Linked DNA regions of Homo sapiens: region 1 is linked to region 2. Evidence: promoter capture Hi-C in human tissues and cell types (Jung and others, 2019). All regions are on one chromosome and are shown on one strand. The core of a region is centred on a gene start or on the middle of the fragment in contact, and the rest is flanking DNA. Distances in the headings are between cores, read along the strand shown.

Region 1 (6,480 bases), core at 2,032-4,531, 610 kb after region 2:
GCTTGCTTTCACTATTTCCATTCAACATAGCACTGAACATTCTAGCCAGAGCAATTAGGCAAGAAAAAGAAATAAAAGGCATCCACACTGGAAAGGAAGAAGTAAAATCATCTCTGTTCACTGATTACATTGATCCTTTTTTTTTTAGTTGGGGTCTTACTCTATTACCCAGGCTAGAGTGCAGTGGCACAATCATGGCTCACTGCATTCTTAAACTCCTGGCCTCATGTGATTCTCCCACCCCAGCCTCCCAATTTGCTATGATTACTGTTATAAGCCACCAGGCTCAGGCCTGATATGATCTTTTATGTAGAAAATTCTAAAGGTTCCACACATCAAAAAAAAAAAACTGTTAGAATTAATAAATGATTTCAACAAAGTAGCACATACAACGTAAACACATAAAAAGTCGCATTTCTATGTGCTAACAATCTGAAAAGGAAATTTAAAAACAATTCCATTTACAATGCATTCAAAAGAATTAAATATTGGCCGGGTGCGGTAGCTTATGCCTGTAATCCCAGCACTTTGGGAGGCTGAGGCGGGTGGATCACCTGAGGTCAGGAGTTCAAGACCAGCCTGGCCAACATGGCAAAACCCTGTCTCTACTAAAAATACAAAAATTAGCCAGGCATGGTGGCAGGCGCCTGTGATCCCAGCTACTCGGGAGAATGAGGCAGGAGAATCGCTTGAACCCAGGAGGCGGAGGTTGCAGTGAGCCGAGATCGTGCCACTGCACTCCAGCCTGGGCGACAAGAGGGAAACTCCATCTCAAAAAATAAAATAAAATAAAATAAAATAAATCAAATAATTAAATAAAATAAAATATTTAGGAATTAACCAACAGGTAAACGACTTATACAATAGAAACTACAAAACATTGCTGAAAGAAATTAAAGAAGACATAAATTAATGGAAACACTTCCCATGTTTGTGGATTGGAAGAGTTAATATTGCTAAGATGTGAATACTACCCAAAGCAATCTACATATTCAATGCAATCCCTATCAAAGTCATGATGATGTTTTTCACTGACATTTCTTAAATAACCATCCTAAAATGTTTATGGTATCTCAAGGTGAGGCAGGGCAAATTCTTGGCTTCACTCAGGAAGGAATTCAAGAGCAAGCCGGGGGTAGAAGAAAACAGCTTTATTGAAGCAGTGGCAACGTCACAGCTCCGTGACTGCTCCTGCCATGCAGGGCTACCTCATAGGCAGTGTGCTGAGAGTAGCAGCCTAGGGGCACTTTTGCAGTTATATTTATACCCACTCTTAATGGTATGCTAATTAAGGGGTCGGTTATTTTAAAATAGCTCAAAAATGGGCAGTAACTTTCAGGTGTTGCCATGGCAATGGTAAACAGTCATGGCGTTAGTGGGCATGTCTTATGGAAAGGTGCCTTCAGTGTCTCTTCCCAGTTTCTTTTCTTTTGAAATGGAGCCAGGCTGGAGTGCAGTGATGAAATCTCAGCTCACTGCAACCTCCGTCTCCCAGGTTCAAGTGATTCTCCTGTCTCAGCCTCCTGAGTATCTGGGACTACAGGCGCCCGCCACCACACCTGGCTAATTTTTGTATAATTTTTTATATTTTTAGTAGAGACGGTGTTTCACCATATTGGCCAGGCTGGTCTTGAACTCCTGGCCTCAAGTGATGTACCCGGCTCGGCCTCCCAAAGTGCTGGCATTACAGGCATGAGCCACCACACACAGACTCTTCCCAGTTTCAACCAGTCTTCAACCTGGCCCACAGTCGAGTCCCACCTGCCTCCTACCTCATTCTCCCCTCAGAGATCAGATACTCCTCCTTAATCTGAAAGGGGTTGCAAAAGGGTGGAGGTCCATGTTCTGTAACTGCTCCCTGCTGAGTTCATGGGAATAGGCCCTGCATAGCACTAGAGGAGTAAAAATCTCCAGATACCTGACCCAAGGCGGCCCAAAGGCAGGATGCTTTCATTCTCTAGGTCAGAAGATGGATGGGTTAGAAACCTTGTGCCAGCATTGTCTTTACCTGGAACTGTTGTAACCTAGAAGACACAAACTTTATTAAGAGGTTAAACAAGCAGGCCGGGAGTGGTGGCTCATGCCTATAATTCCAGCACTTTGGGAGGCCGAGGTGGGCAGATCACCTGAGGTCAGGAGTTCGAGACCAGCCCATGGTGAAACAACATGGTGAAACCCCATCTCTACTAATAATTCAAAAATTAGCCAGGTGTGGTGGCTCACACCTGTAATCCCAGCTACTCAGGAGGCTGAGGCAGGAGAATCGTTTGAACCCAGGAGGGGGAGGTTGCAGTGAGCTGAGATCGTGCCATTGCACTCTAGCCTGGGCAACAAAGAGCAAAACTCCATCTCAAAAAAAAAAGAGGTTAAAAAAGCAAGGGCCAAAGATTAGTAATAACAAGACAGCTATCAAAGGTCCTAGGAGAGGTAAGAACCAAGTGAGACTTGGGAGGGGTTTTTTTTTTTTTTTTTTGAGATGAAGTCTTGCTCTTGTTGCCCAGGCTGGAGTTCAATGGCGCGATCTCAGCTCATTGCAACCTCTGCCTCCCGGGTTCAAGCAATTCTCCTGCCTCAGCCTCCCAAGTAGCTGGGATTACAGGCGCCCGCCACCACGTACGTCTAATTTTTGTATTTTTAGTAGACACAGGGATTCACCATGTTGGCCAGGCTGGTCTCGAACTCCTGACTTCAGGCAATTCACTTGCCTCGGCCTCCCAAGTGCTGGGATTACAGACATGAGCCACTGTGCCCGGCCGGGAGGGCATTTTTGATAATCGAGCAGATATAGCTGGAGTCAGTGACCCAGCATCTATGTGACCAGATAGATTGCTGATAGATCGTGTGAATGTTAATCTCAACCTGTCCAGGTTTTATTCATAACTGCACAGCCTCCACCTTGTTCAGCTAGTAAATAATCCAATGCTAGTCTCTTATCAAGAACTACATTTGCCAAAGAGTCTAGGAATCCCTGAATTCCTTTTAATGCCTGACCTGTGTTGGTGGCTAATGATTCCAGGGTTTGAGTCAGTTCTTTAGGGCCAACTCATGGTAGGCAAAGCCACCCCAGGGGGCCACTAGTTCTAATGCCACTCCAGTTCATGTCAGAATTAATCCTATTGATCATTCATTTCTGGTATTCCTCGGTCTTACAGGGTTTTATATGGTGACCCCCGGAAGGCCAAAGGGTGGCCAACATACACTCACCCCTGTTCCAAGTTTTTGATATACAAAGGAAAGCTACTCCTAAAAGAACAGGAGGTCCTCTGGGGAGTTAGGAGTGGTTATGGGATGTGACTTCTTCCCACTTATGACCACAAATGAAAACGAACCCATTTGGGGTGCAATAGAGGCCCTGTGAGGTGTGATGCCTATCTTTAGCCACTAAGTTGGGTCTGTGGAGATACAAGATATCTCCCCCCATTCCAACGGGGAGGACCAAACAACCCTGGTAGGGTTTTCTGGGTTTTGTTTGTTTTTTGCTTTTTGACAGTTGACAGAGCTAGCTGAGGCTTTATCTTGAAAAAACAAAACAAAACAAAACAAAACAGTGGAATTGTTTTGTGATGGAGGCATGGGCAAGGGAGTTACCCCACACAAGTGGGCTGTGGAGGAGGGCTGAGCCTCAAGTGGGTCTCCTGTTCCCTGCGCTTTCCTGCACAGCAGCCTCCCCCACAAGCTCTGGGGCAGCTGCAAGAGGGGGTAGGCTGGGAGGGACTGCCATAGTTGTTCGCTTGGGCAGGACATCAGAGGACTCGGACACCAGCTTCCCAACCATGGTCCTGGAGGAGCTGGTGCGGCTGAAGGAGCTGAAATCCCTGCCAGAGTCAAGGCTGGGGCCCAGGCCGTAGCTGAGGCCAGGGCTTGTGAGGCCCCGGGAGGCCGAGCTCAGCTGTCTACTTAAGCAGCTGCGGCGCCAGGTCCTGCTTGGCCGGCGCCAGGTCCTGCTTGGCCTGCTACAGGGCAGCCTCCAGCTCCACCAGCTCCCCACGCTGCTCAGCATCCGCGATGGCCTCTGAGGCCCTCAATCTCAGCATGGACCCCGCTGATGTTGCGGATCATCTCAGAGTTCTCCATCTTCCCGCGACGCAGGTCATCCCCGTGCTTCCCAGCCAGTGTCTGCAACTCCTCATCCTTGACCTGGTGCAGACTCTTAGCCTTGCCTGGCCGCAGTGGGCGATCTCCTCGTACTGGGCGTTGACCTCCGCGATGATGCCATCCACGTCCAGGGAGTGGCTGTTGTCCATGGACAGCACACAGACGTGTCCGAGATCTGGGACTGCAGCTTCCAGATCTCCTCTTCACACAGCTCTCTGGGGAAGTTGATCTTGTCAGTCAGCCCTTCCAGGTGAGACTCCAGCACTGCCTTGTTCATGTAAGCTCCATCCACATCCTTCTCGATGAAGGCAAATTCATTCCCCATCTCTGTCCGCTCGTTGATCTCATCCTGGTACTTATCGTTGAAGTCTTCCAGCAGCCCCTGCGTGTTGCCAAGATCTGCCTCCACCTTCAGCTTCTCCTGGCCCAGTGTCCAGCTGCTGCCCAAGGCTGTGGATGTGGCTCTCAAACACGCTGTCCATGTTGCTCCCAGCTGTCTTCTGCTGCTGCAGGATGCTCCACTTAGTCTCCAGCATTTGTTCTGCTGCTCCAGGAACTGCACCTTGTCGATGAAGGAGGCAAACTTGTTGAGGGTCTTGATCTGCTCCTTCTCCTGGGTATGCACAGCCTGGATATTGGGGTCCAGGTCCAGCTTAAGGGGGCTCAGCAGACTCTGGTTCACCATGATGGCTGTGTCGCCCACCCCCACCCCATACCACTGCCCCACCATAGCCACCACCCAGACTCATGCTGGTGCCTAGGCCACTCCAGAAGCTGCTGCTGCTGCCCACTTGGGAGAAGCTCAAGGAGCTGATGTGGGCACCGGGACCACTGGTGTAGGAGCGGCTGCTGAAGGCCCAGGGGCCAGAGATGGATGCCTTGTAGGGCTTCTGGGTCACCGTGATGGACACGATGGAGGCAGGAGTGGAGGTAGGCAGGCCGAACCAGATGTAGATTCAAGGATGGAGAAGCTTCCTCTAGGTCAGCCCTTGTTTTCCAGAAGGGGGCGGTAATCTCACCTTCCCAGATTAGGCAGTTGTTTTTTTCTCTGTATGTTCTGCTCTGGGAGAAGGCACTGTATATGGTCTCCTTGCTCACAAGTGGAATCTTATTTATCTTGCTGTGGCCTTGGGAACTTGGCAACTACAGTTGGGTCACAGCATTGTGGGGAAACTTCCACTTTTGTGTCATTAACACAACAGTGGTTGCAAAAGATAGAATCATTAGTGCCCTGGAGATCTAGATACACGCCTTGACAGAATCATGAGTGCCCTAGAGATCTAGATACATGCCTTGATAGAATCATGAGTGCCCTGGAGATCTAGACATACGCCTTCCCAGGTCCAGGCAATAGTGGTGGGGGATTTCAGGTAGAATCCATCAAGTGCACGACAGAAATTTCCACCTAATGGTCGGGGTCTGGGTACTTTGAGATTGCTATGGATGGTGAAGAGGGCTAGGGAGTTAGCCAAGAGAGTTTTTGGATCGGCCAGAAGGTGAAATTCTCTATCCTGGGGATGTTGATGACAAATCCAGCAACCATGAAGATGATTTCCTAAAGCTATAATTTTTGAAATATTTACTATAAAGTTTTGTTCCCACTTACACAGGATTAGGTTAATTGGGAGAGCAACAGGATTAACAGTGGCACATGGTATCCACCTGGGCCTTAGAGTGGCCTCTACACCCAACAAGGACAAGAGATGTTTCCTGGGAGGAGGTAGTTGCCCAAAGCGACAGAAAAGAAGTATTACAATCAGGAAGAAGAGAAAAATGTTCCCACCCACGGCGTCACGTTACCACTTATGGCTGAATATTGATTCTTTTAAATAGGTAGCAGAGGTCCTCCAAAGGTTCACAGATGTAGGTCGTGGTATCCTGCTTTTGTGCCTGTGACTCATAAGAAACAGGTTTAATCCTAGACAGGTGTACCCAACAAGTTATTCCCTGAAGTTTAGCAGCAGAGGGGATACTCAACAACACCTGATAGGGGCTCTGTCATTTCGGTTGTAATTGATCCTCAGGGGAATCTTTCTTTCCAAGTTTTTATTAAGACTAAGCCTCCTGGCCGGGCGCGGTGGCTCACGCCTGTAATCCCAGCACTTTGGGAGGCCAAGGCGGGCGGATCACGAGGTCAGGAGATCGAGACCATCCTGGCGAACACGGTGAAACCCCGTCTCTACTAAACACACAAAGAATTAGCCGGGCGTGGTGGCGGGCGCCTGTAGTCCCAGCTACTCGGGAGGCTGAGGCAGGAGAATTGCTTGAACCTGGGAGGCAGAGGTTGCAGTGAGCCGAGATCTCACCATTGCACTCCAACCTGGCTGACAGAGTGAGACTGCGTCTCAAAAATAAATAAATAAATATAAAAAAATCAGCCGGGCA
Region 2 (3,804 bases), core at 1-2,500:
GTGGCCGTGGAGCTGACCTGACCAGGCAAGGCTGCTGTCTCCATCCCTGAGCCGCCTGCCACCTCCCACTCCTGAAGATCCATCTCTTGGGGCTCCCCTGACAGAGAAGACAGCCGAAGTCAAAGCCACATCCTCTTGCTGATGTTGGATGCAGGCTGTCCGGCCTCAGGGCCAGGGAGCCAGTTTCCACTGTGCGGGAACTCTGAGTCAGACGTGATTATCTGGGGGTCTGTCCACCCTGGCTGGATCTGGAGGCAAGATGCCAGGCCCCCCAGGTGTTCTCAGGGCAGTTCTTGGTGTCTGCTTCTCAGATTCCAAGGACTGGAATTAAAACCTTTCCTGGGACTCTGGCGTGCCCTGTGTGTGTGTGTGATTTACCTTGCAAGAGAATCAGGGCTCCCGTGGGGAGCACCTGAACCAGGCCGACTTCTAGGGTGCCTGCAGATTGCCACTCCTCACACTACCCAGCAGAGGCTAGAGCACTGTGCGTGGGGCCAGGCTGGGGAGGGGGAGGTGGGCGCTGGGCTGCCTGGCGCTGGGCAGAGTCAACATATGGCACCGGGAGAGTGCCTCGGCGGGGAGGGTGGATGCGTGTGCTTGGAGCCTGGGTCATGTCTGCACCTGTCCCAGTTGCCTGGCAGATTGGCAAGGCAGGCTGGCAGAGCCTGCGTGCGTGGGAGGCAGCCGGCAGCACCGCCATGTGCTGACGACCTCACAGCCAGACTCCCCCTGGTTAGCACTGAGTGTCAGAACCACCCCCAGAACCTCAGTTAAGCAAATAGGTTGGTTTCCATGGAGACATGGCATATTTTCTCCATGGCAACCTAAAATCCTAAAACCCAGGTTCAGGAATGAGTCATCTATGGACAGTAGAGGGTGCTCTCCCACAAGGCTGACCTGAGGCCAGGGGCAGATGAGCAACTGACCACAGAGCCAAAGGTGCCCCCAGAGCATGGCTGGGGCCTGTGGGGACTGAGGCCGCTTAACCACTTCCCGCCCACGTGTGCAATGTGAGTAGCTGGTGAGGCTGCAGGAGGCCGTGTGTGGAGGTGGCATCCCCCAGCTGGGGCCCTCAGAGCAGGGCTAGCATGGAGGGGACCCCTGACCCCCAAAGCAGGGTCCAGAACAGAGGAGGCGGGCACTGGCCAGGCAGGGTGGACACACAAGAGTTAACTGGCGGGTGTGACAGGCGGACCGCCCTCAGGAAGTGTTACTCACTGGGGATGTGCGTGCCTTGCCTTGGGACTGGATTCTCTTCCTGAAGCGAAGGAGCTCCCAGCCATGGAAAGCCCTGGAGAGTCAGGCGCGGGCTCTCCTGGAGCCCCCAGCCCGTCCAGCTTCACTACTGGGCACCTGGCGAGAGAAAAGTTAGTGAAGTTGGCAGGGCAGCCAGGTGGGGCAGGGAGGGGCTGCGAGAGGAGGGCCTATCCGGGGATAGAGAAAGTGGGAAACCCGGGAGTGGGGAAGAGGAGAGCAAGGGTCCCAGCCCCTGGCTCCCTGCTCAGATCTGGGTGCCTGCCCCCAGGCCAGCCCAGGACCCACTGTATGACGTGCCCAATGCCAGCGGCGGGCAGGCAGGCGGGCCGCAGCGGCCGGGGCGCGTTGTGAGCCTGCGGGAGCGCCTGCTGCTCACCCGGCCCGTGTGGCTGCAGCTGCAAGCCAACGCAGCGGCCGCACTGCACATGCTGAGGACCGAGCCCCCGGGGGTGAGTCTTGCCCCACACTCCAGGGACTGGCCAGCCAGGGGTGGGAGGGAGAGGGATGGGACGCCAAGGTCCTGAGCTGCCTGAGCCCTATCCACTTGCAGACGTTCCTCGTGCGGAAATCTAACACCCGCCAGTGCCAGGCCCTGTGCATGCGGTTGCCTGAAGCCAGTGGCCCCTCCTTCGTCTCCAGCCACTACATCCTGGAGAGCCCTGGCGGTGAGGGGCTGGCCTGGCGGGAAGGGGCTGGAAGCAGGGAGGTTCCCCAGAGAAGCACCTCACTTCCCTCCTCTCTCAGGCGTCTCCTTGGAGGGCTCGGAGCTCATGTTCCCAGACCTAGTCCAGCTCATCTGTGCCTACTGCCACACCCGGTGAGTCTGCCCGCAGGGTGCCTGGTGTCCACGGGCCCTGCTCCTTGGGACAGCCCATCCTTCCCGCCCTCTTCGGCCCTCACTCCCTTCTGCTCCCCTCTCTGGCCTCAGGGACATCCTTCTCCTCCCGCTGCAGCTCCCCAGAGCCATCCACCACGCAGCCACTCACAAAGAGCTGGAGGCCATCTCCCATCTGGGCATTGGTAAGGGCTTCCTGCCACCCATTGCACAGATGAACAAGCTGAGGCCGAGGGGAAGGCAAGGCTCGCAGCACACCGCCCGAAGCCCCTGCCTTGCCTTGGTTGGGAAACTTCCCCTAACCAGTCCCGGAGGCCCCAGTCGGTTTCTTGTTCCCTAGAGTTCTGGAGCTCCTCCCTCAACATCAAGGCTCAGCGGGGCCCGGCTGGAGGCCCAGTGTTGCCCCAGCTGAAGGCCCGGTCCCCTCAAGAGCTGGACCAGGGCACCGGAGCCGCCTTGTGCTTCTTCAACCCCCTGTTCCCGGGGGACCTAGGGCCCACCAAGCGGGAGAAATTCAAGAGAAGCTTCAAAGTGCGCGTGTCCACAGAGACCTCCAGCCCCCTGTCTCCACCTGCCGTGCCACCTCCCCCCGTCCCCGTGCTGCCAGGGGCAGTCCCCAGCCAGACAGAGCGGCTGCCCCCTTGCCAGCTGCTACGGAGGGAGAGCTCAGTGGGGTACCGCGTGCCAGCAGGCAGTGGCCCTAGCCTTCCGCCTATGCCCTCCCTCCAAGAGGTGGACTGCGGCTCCCCCAGCAGCTCCGAGGAGGAGGGGGTGCCAGGGTCCCGGGGGAGCCCAGCGACCTCACCCCACCTGGGCCGCCGACGACCTCTGCTTCGGTCCATGAGCGCCGCCTTCTGCTCCCTACTGGCACCGGAGCGGCAGGTGGGCCGGGCTGCGGCAGCACTGATGCAGGACCGACACACAGCCGCGGGCCAGCTGGTGCAGGACCTACTGACCCAGGTGCGGGCTGGGCCCGAGCCCCAGGAGCTGCAGGGCATCCGTCAGGCGCTGAGCCGGGCCCGGGCCATGCTGAGTGCGGAGCTGGGCCCTGAGAAGCTGCTGTCGCCTAAGAGGCTGGGTGAGGCTCCGTCTCTCCATAGCTCCAGCACTGCCCCATCCGACCCTCTGCTCCCCTCCACAGCGCCAGCCTGTCTGATTCTGTTCTGCTGCTTTACAAATCCATCTTGTCTTACCACTGTTCGAGAGAGTTCCATCCCCTCTCTCCCCCAACTCTTCCGTCTCACCCAGGCTACCTCCTCCTGCTTTCCTTGCCTCTCCTCCCCGATTCTACCCCTGCTCCCTTCTCCCCTTGCCTCTGCCCCCCATACCCCCAGTCTTCCCCTGACCCCTCCCTGTCCCTCCGGCAGAACATGTCCTGGAGAAGTCATTGCATTGCTCTGTGCTCAAGCCTCTCCGGCCCATCCTGGCAGCCCGCCTGCGGCGCCGGCTTGCCGCAGACGGCTCCCTGGGCCGCCTAGCTGAGGGCCTCCGCCTGGCCCGGGCCCAGGGCCCCGGAGCCTTCGGGTCCCACCTGAGCCTGCCCTCCCCAGTAGAGTTGGAGCAAGTGCGCCAGAAGCTGCTGCAGCTGCTCCGCACCTACTCACCCAGCGCCCAGGTCAAGCGGCTCCTGCAGGCCTGCAAGCTGCTCTACATGGCCCTGAGGACCCAGGAAGGTATGTCCCTGCCACCACCTCACCCTGCCCTGCCCCTTT

What was found. The method cuts DNA at HindIII sites, captures the fragments that hold promoters and counts their contacts. A contact is called where the count stands out against the background at its distance.
Region 1: a contact is called between a fragment that was not itself captured here and the fragment with the promoter of RIN1 in region 2, in 1 of the 25 tissues and cell types used here (dorsolateral prefrontal cortex).

Annotation. Positions count from the first base shown.
Region 1 is chr11:65,725,465-65,731,944 of GRCh38, reverse strand. It overlaps the pseudogene KRT8P26. Among named protein-coding and RNA genes, the nearest start is that of RNASEH2C, 7.9 kb to the right of the region's middle. The HindIII fragment of the contact is 6,520 bases long and covers 22-6,480 here.
Region 2 is chr11:66,333,880-66,337,683 of GRCh38, reverse strand. It overlaps RIN1 (Ras and Rab interactor 1), which reads left to right and starts at 1,250. Exons shown (of 10, transcript NM_004292.3): 1 at 1,250-1,367; 2 at 1,526-1,706; 3 at 1,808-1,922; 4 at 2,002-2,074; 5 at 2,186-2,277; 6 at 2,433-3,170; 7 at 3,460-3,765. The coding sequence starts at 1,282. BRMS1 (BRMS1 transcriptional repressor and anoikis regulator) reads left to right here. Exons shown (of 10, transcript NM_015399.4): 10 at 1-345. RefSeq lists an enhancer at 1-770. The HindIII fragment of the contact is 7,337 bases long and covers 1-3,307 here.